2 separate regions of the Homo sapiens genome follow, and region 2 is linked to region 1. Evidence: promoter capture Hi-C in human tissues and cell types (Jung and others, 2019). All regions are on one chromosome and are shown on one strand. Each heading gives the region's core, a stretch centred on a gene start or on the middle of the fragment in contact. The rest is flanking DNA. Distances are from core to core; before and after follow the strand shown.

Region 1 (2,758 bases), core at 160-2,659:
AATGTGGTTTTATCAATTTCATGAGCCATGTATGAGGGTTCCAGCTGTGACATCCTCGACAAACTAGGTATTGTCAGTCCTTTTAATTTTAGCCATTCTTGGGTGGGTGAGGGCAGTGAAGAGCTATTCTTGACATGGAATGACAAGACCTAGTGTGCCCGAGGTGAAGGCCTGAGCGTCCAGGGGAGCATGAGCCTGTCTTCTATGCCCTGCTGTGCTATGGCAGTGTTTCAGTGTGCTCTGGAGGAAAACAGCAGAGAAGCCGAGTGCTCCAAAGTGGGCAGAAATGAGACAGGCATAATGTGCTAGGCTAATGGTGACTCTTGGAATTTTGTCATTAGCTACAAAGAGGGCAGTGACATGATTTACACACACACACGGGGTGGGGTATCTGAAATATTAGGCAGCTAGTATGGCAGGGGCACCGTCTAATCAGCATGGATGCTGGCCAGGAGAGGACATGTGTATGTGCTGGCTGGAAACAGTCCTGCTCATAGGTCACGATCTTAATGATTAAATAACAAGGCAAGAAATCCGAGAGGGCAGTGCCTGGGAGCACCCTGTTTGCTCTGTGGCCAGAACGCAGCACACTGAAGTATTGCCCATCAGGGTAAGAGGTGCTCGTGATGGTTTGGGCAAATACAAATATTAATCCAGAGTATTTGAGTCTACATGAAAATACTGAAAAGTGAGGGAAGACCCAACCGTTTCCAAGAAATACAAATTGGAACTGGCGATAACTTAAAGAACATAATCAGAGAGGCAGAGGGCATTGGGTTTTACTAAAATATGAAGACATACGTCCTGTCTCCACGTCAGCAACTGCCCAAAGTACACGCGTTCCAGCGAAAAGAGCGGGTGGGGTGGGGAGGCTCAGGGCCAGCCAGAGCTTCGGTGCTTGCACGCCCAGGCCTCCGGGTGACGACTGCTTCCAATTCCGCGCCCTTTAAACCCCATGTTGTTAAAAAAAAAAAAAAAGAAAGAAAACCTATTTCTCTAAAAGTCACGATTCGAGCCCCACCTGAGGACGCAGCGATCCAGCGCCAACTCATTATCTGAGATAAAGGAGTGATTTTACCAGAAGCGCCTATGCAAGACGCAGGGCCCCGCGCGGGCTGCTCCCACCTCTTTCTCTCCTTGCAGGCTACCGAGACCCTGGCTGGGGCGGCCGGCGGCCCCTCCGGCCCATCCGTCGGAAATGATGAGTGGCTCCAGTGGCCGGGGTCCGCAGGACCTACCCCAGCGGGCATGGCGGGAGCCCCGCAGCCCCACACAGCCGCGCTCTGAGCCGCTGACCCCGCGTCTCTCGTGAGGGACCAATCAGCTGCCAGCTAAGGTCACATACCTAGAAGGCCAATTTTGATTGGCTGGGCGCGGGCTAGTCAGCGGGACGGGCGGGCGCGCGGGCGTTGTTGGGCTCCTCTGAGCGGTTGAGGTTGGGGCTGGGGTTGAGCTCGGGTTGGGTTCCTCCTGGGGCAGGAGGGAAAGGCGGGAGCCAGGGCGTCAGGGCCTGCGGACGATGTGTGTGTGAAAGGGCGCGTCAGCCATAAGAAGCCATATGCGTGCGAGCCGGTCCCCACCGTCCCCGCGGCGTTGTCACCATCATCATGAGGCCACTGGAGCAGCCTCAGGCGCTGCTGCCGGGGGGCCGGGCGCGGGGTGCGTCGGGCTCTGCAGGTTGGCACTCACACCCAGCGCGCAGGATGGCAGGCAAGTGAGTCCTGAATCCTGCCCGCGGCTACCCGACACCTCGCCTGTGAGTTCCCGGCCCGGCATTGCTCCATGACCTATGCACAGGCAGAACTCTTGACCGCCACCCACAGGAACCTCACTTACATTGGCTTAACAAAAACGCAACTGATGGTTCCACATAACTGAAAATGTCAGAAGTAGGCCTTCAGGCATGGATGTATCCAGGTACACATTGACCATGGTCCTGGAAGGTTTCTCTCCATCTCTCAGCTTCCTTCCTTTTTGCTGGCTTCCCTTGTGGAGGCAAGATGATCACCAGGACCTCCTGAGGTTTACATGTTATCAGATTATCAACCTCAACAAAAAGGAGATTCTTTTTTTTCCCAGCTTTCCAGGCTGGGCAGTGGTGAGTTTGGCCCACCTGAACTACAAGGACTGAGATGGCTGTGGCCCCCCCCCTCCCCACCAGGAATATAGCAGTGCTGTCATTACCAGAAGGGGCCTCGGATGCTGTGGAGGGCAGTGCCCCATCCTCTGTTTTCAAGCATTATCTGGGAGAGTTGATGCGTGAACCTATTACTCTCACAAAAATAGCAATAATAATAATGGTTATTATGACAATGAAACCCAAAAACACTTATATCGCTCTTACGGTTTCCACATACAAAGCACTTTGACCCACTACTGTCAGGGAAGCAGGGCTTTGCACCCACTGGAGACGCTTCATCCAGCCAACATTCAAGCAGTTTGTTGGGGAGTGGAACAGGGAAGAGCCACACAGGCTGTGTAACCCCAAGTGCTTTGTCATCCCAGAGACAAAGCACCCGGGTTTTTATAGTGGAAGGAGGTTCATTAATGGACAGTTTGACGATGTTTTTTCTTCAGTATTTCAGTAAGTTGAGGGTGTCTGACAGATCATCCTAGGTGATGTGATTGGCAGCTACATGTCTTGGAAAGTTCTCAGCAGGTTGGAATGCTCCTGTCTTTTCTGATGCTCCAAGCACAAGTGTAGCTGGAGTCAGCTTGAAGCTGGTTGGCTTGGGAATGCAGGATTCCATGACAGCCA
Region 2 (2,758 bases), core at 189-2,688, 230 kb after region 1:
ACTTTTGGAGGCCGAGGCAGGTGGATTGCTTGAACCCAGCCTGAACAACATAGAGAGATCCTATCTCTACAAAAAATACAAAAAAAAAAAAAAAAAAAAAAAAAAAACAAACAAAAGCTGGGTGTGGTGGTGCACGCCTGAAGTCCTAGCTACTCAGGAGACTGGTTGAGGGAGGAGGATTGCTTGAGCCCGAGAGGTTGAGGCCATAGTATGCTGAGATTATGCCACTGCACTTCAGCCTGGGCAATGGGAGTAAGACCCTGTCTCAATTTTTTTTTTTAAGCCAACTTTGTAAAATACGAAAAGGGGTTTATTTTGAGCCAATATGAGTGGCGATGGCCTGAAGGATGGTCTCAGTAGGTCCTGAGAAAGTGTACCCAAAGCGGTCAGGTTACAGCTTAATTTTATACATTTTAGGGAGACAGAAGTTACAGGCAAAGACATAAGTCAGTATGTGTAATGTGTATATTGGTTTGGCCCAGAAAGGTAGAACATCGCAAAGCAGGGAGGCTTACAGGTCATAGGTAGATTCAAAGATTTTCTGATTAGCAATTGGTTGAAAGAGTTAAGCTTTGTCTAAAGACTTAAAGTCAGTAGAAAGTTCAGATAAGGGGTGTTGTGGAGACCAAGGTTCTTGTTATGTAGTTGATGCCTCCTGGGTAGCAGTCTTCAGAGAGAATAGGTGCTAAAGGTGTTAGACTTTTACTTAATCTCTCTTAAATCCAATAAAGATCTGGCTGCATTAATGAAGATTCTCTACAGATGCAAAAATTTCCCTACAAATAACTGTGTTGCAGGACCATTATAAAATATGTCAAGGAAATATATTTTGGGGCAAAATATTTTGATTTCCTTCAGGCTCTGCTGTTATGTGATGCTATACTAGAATCATGTTGGGATTTGATATGTTATTGCCGCAAAGAATATGTTTTGTCTGTCTCACGATCTCTATTTTAATGTTAATGCTGGTCAGTTGTGCCTAAACTCCAAAAGGGAGGTGTGTAACAAAGTGTATCCAACCTCCCTTCCTGTTAGGGCCTGGATTCCAGTTTTTTTTTTTTTTCTTTTTTTTTTTTTGAGACAGAGTTTTATTCTGTCCCCCAGGCTAGAGTGCAGTGGTGCGATCTCAGCTCACTGCACCCTCCAGCTGGCAGGTTCAAGCAGTTCTCCCGCGTCAGCCCCCCTGAGCAGCTGGGATGACAGGTGTGCAGCACCACTGCCAGCTAATTTTTGTATTTTTTGTAGAGACAGGGCTTCACCATGTTGGCCAGGCTGGTCTTGAACTCCTGACCTCAAGTGATCCTGTCAGAAGCATGTTAACCAGAGCAACTCCATCTTGAATAGAAGCTAGCTAAAATGAGGCTGAGACCTACTGGGCTGCATTCCCAAACAGTTAAGGCATTCCAAGTCACAAGGTGAGATAGGAGATCAGCACAAAATACAGGTCATAAAGACCTTGCTGATAAAAACAGGTTGCAGTAAAGGAGCTGGCTAAAACCCACCAAAACCAAGATGGTGTGACCAAGGATGGAACTCTGATCATTCTCACTGCTACATCCCACCAGTGTCATGACAGTTTACAGATGCCGTGGTAATGTCAGATGGTTACCATACATGGTCTAAAAAGGGGAGGCAGGAATAATCCACCTATTGTGGAGTATATCATCAAGAGATAACCATAAAAATAGGCAACCAGCCACCCTTGGGGCTGCTCTGTCTATGGAGTAGCCATTCTTTTATTCCTTTACTTTCCTGATGAACTTGCTTTCACTTTACTCGATGGACAAGCCCTGAATCCAAGAACTGAGTGAGATCCAAGAACCCTCTCCTGAGGTCTGGATCGGGACCCCTTTCCTGTAGCAATCTGCCCTCCTTGGCCTCCCAAAGTGCTAGGATTACAGATGTGAGCCACTGTGCCTGGCCTGGAATTTAGTTTTTCAGGTTGCTATGGGGTCCTCTTGGCCAAGAGGGGGTGTCCTTTCAGTTGGTTTGGGACTTAGGGTTTCATTTGGGGTTTATGTGGCCCAACGAAGCAGGTGAGAACACCCAATGAAGAAGGTGAGAGCACCCTTGGGCGCCTGAGGGACAACATCTCCTTGCACCCTTCAGCTGGCTTGAGATCTCCACTCCATGGTGATTGAGCTCAGTCTCTTGGGTTTGGGTCTCAGAACTCCACTCTGCCTCCTGAGGGCTCTAATCCCACCATTTCCTCAGTGACTGGGAAGGTCAACCCCTTCTATTTTGTCCACTCTGCCTTCCCTGTTTGTTTTTAAATAGACTTAATGTTTTAGGGTTGTTTTAGGTTTACGGCAACATTGAGCAGAAGGTACAGAGATTACGCTGTTTTCATCTCCTGGTTTCTGTTGATGCGAAGGTGCACATCTACCTCCTCTTAGCTCCTGGATTCTACCCACTCAGAGTTTCTGTTTCTCCTAACCTCAGTTAGGCATGACTCCTGAATGTCTGTCTTTTAACTTTTCCTTCTTTGCTCCTGTCATCAACTGATTAATTCTTTCTTTTTCCCAAGTAAACACCCTGATGGGTGCCTCCTATGAATTGGCAGCGCTCTATTCAGGAGCCCAAAATTAACCCAGTAAATCATGGCCTCAGTGACTGCAGGATTAGGAACAGGGTTGCCTGGGGTCTGTGGGTATTGCATACCTTGTGATTGACTTTTACTGTAGCCAATTGAATTTCACATTTAGGGAGTTGTATGCTTCCTCACTCTAGCAGCATAGTAGCCCTGGGAAACAGTCTA

The links. Contacts are between HindIII fragments. The study calls those that stand out against the background at their distance.
Region 2: a contact is called between a fragment that was not itself captured here and the fragment with the promoter of C16orf95 in region 1, in 3 of the 25 tissues and cell types used here (IMR-90 fibroblasts, aorta and mesenchymal stem cells).

Annotation. Positions count from the first base shown.
Region 1 is chr16:87,316,043-87,318,800 of GRCh38, reverse strand. C16orf95 (chromosome 16 open reading frame 95) reads left to right here and starts at 1,409. Exons shown (of 7, transcript NM_001195124.3): 1 at 1,409-1,710. The coding sequence starts at 1,559. It overlaps C16orf95-DT (C16orf95 divergent transcript), which reads right to left and starts at 1,292. Exons shown (of 2, transcript NR_135180.1): 1 at 1,079-1,292; 2 at 758-944. RefSeq lists an enhancer at 1,382-1,831. The HindIII fragment of the contact is 14,678 bases long and covers 1-2,758 here.
Region 2 is chr16:87,086,789-87,089,546 of GRCh38, reverse strand. No RefSeq gene overlaps it. Among named protein-coding and RNA genes, the nearest start is that of LINC02181, 30 kb to the right of the region's middle. RefSeq lists an enhancer at 378-1,027. The HindIII fragment of the contact is 5,730 bases long and covers 1-2,758 here.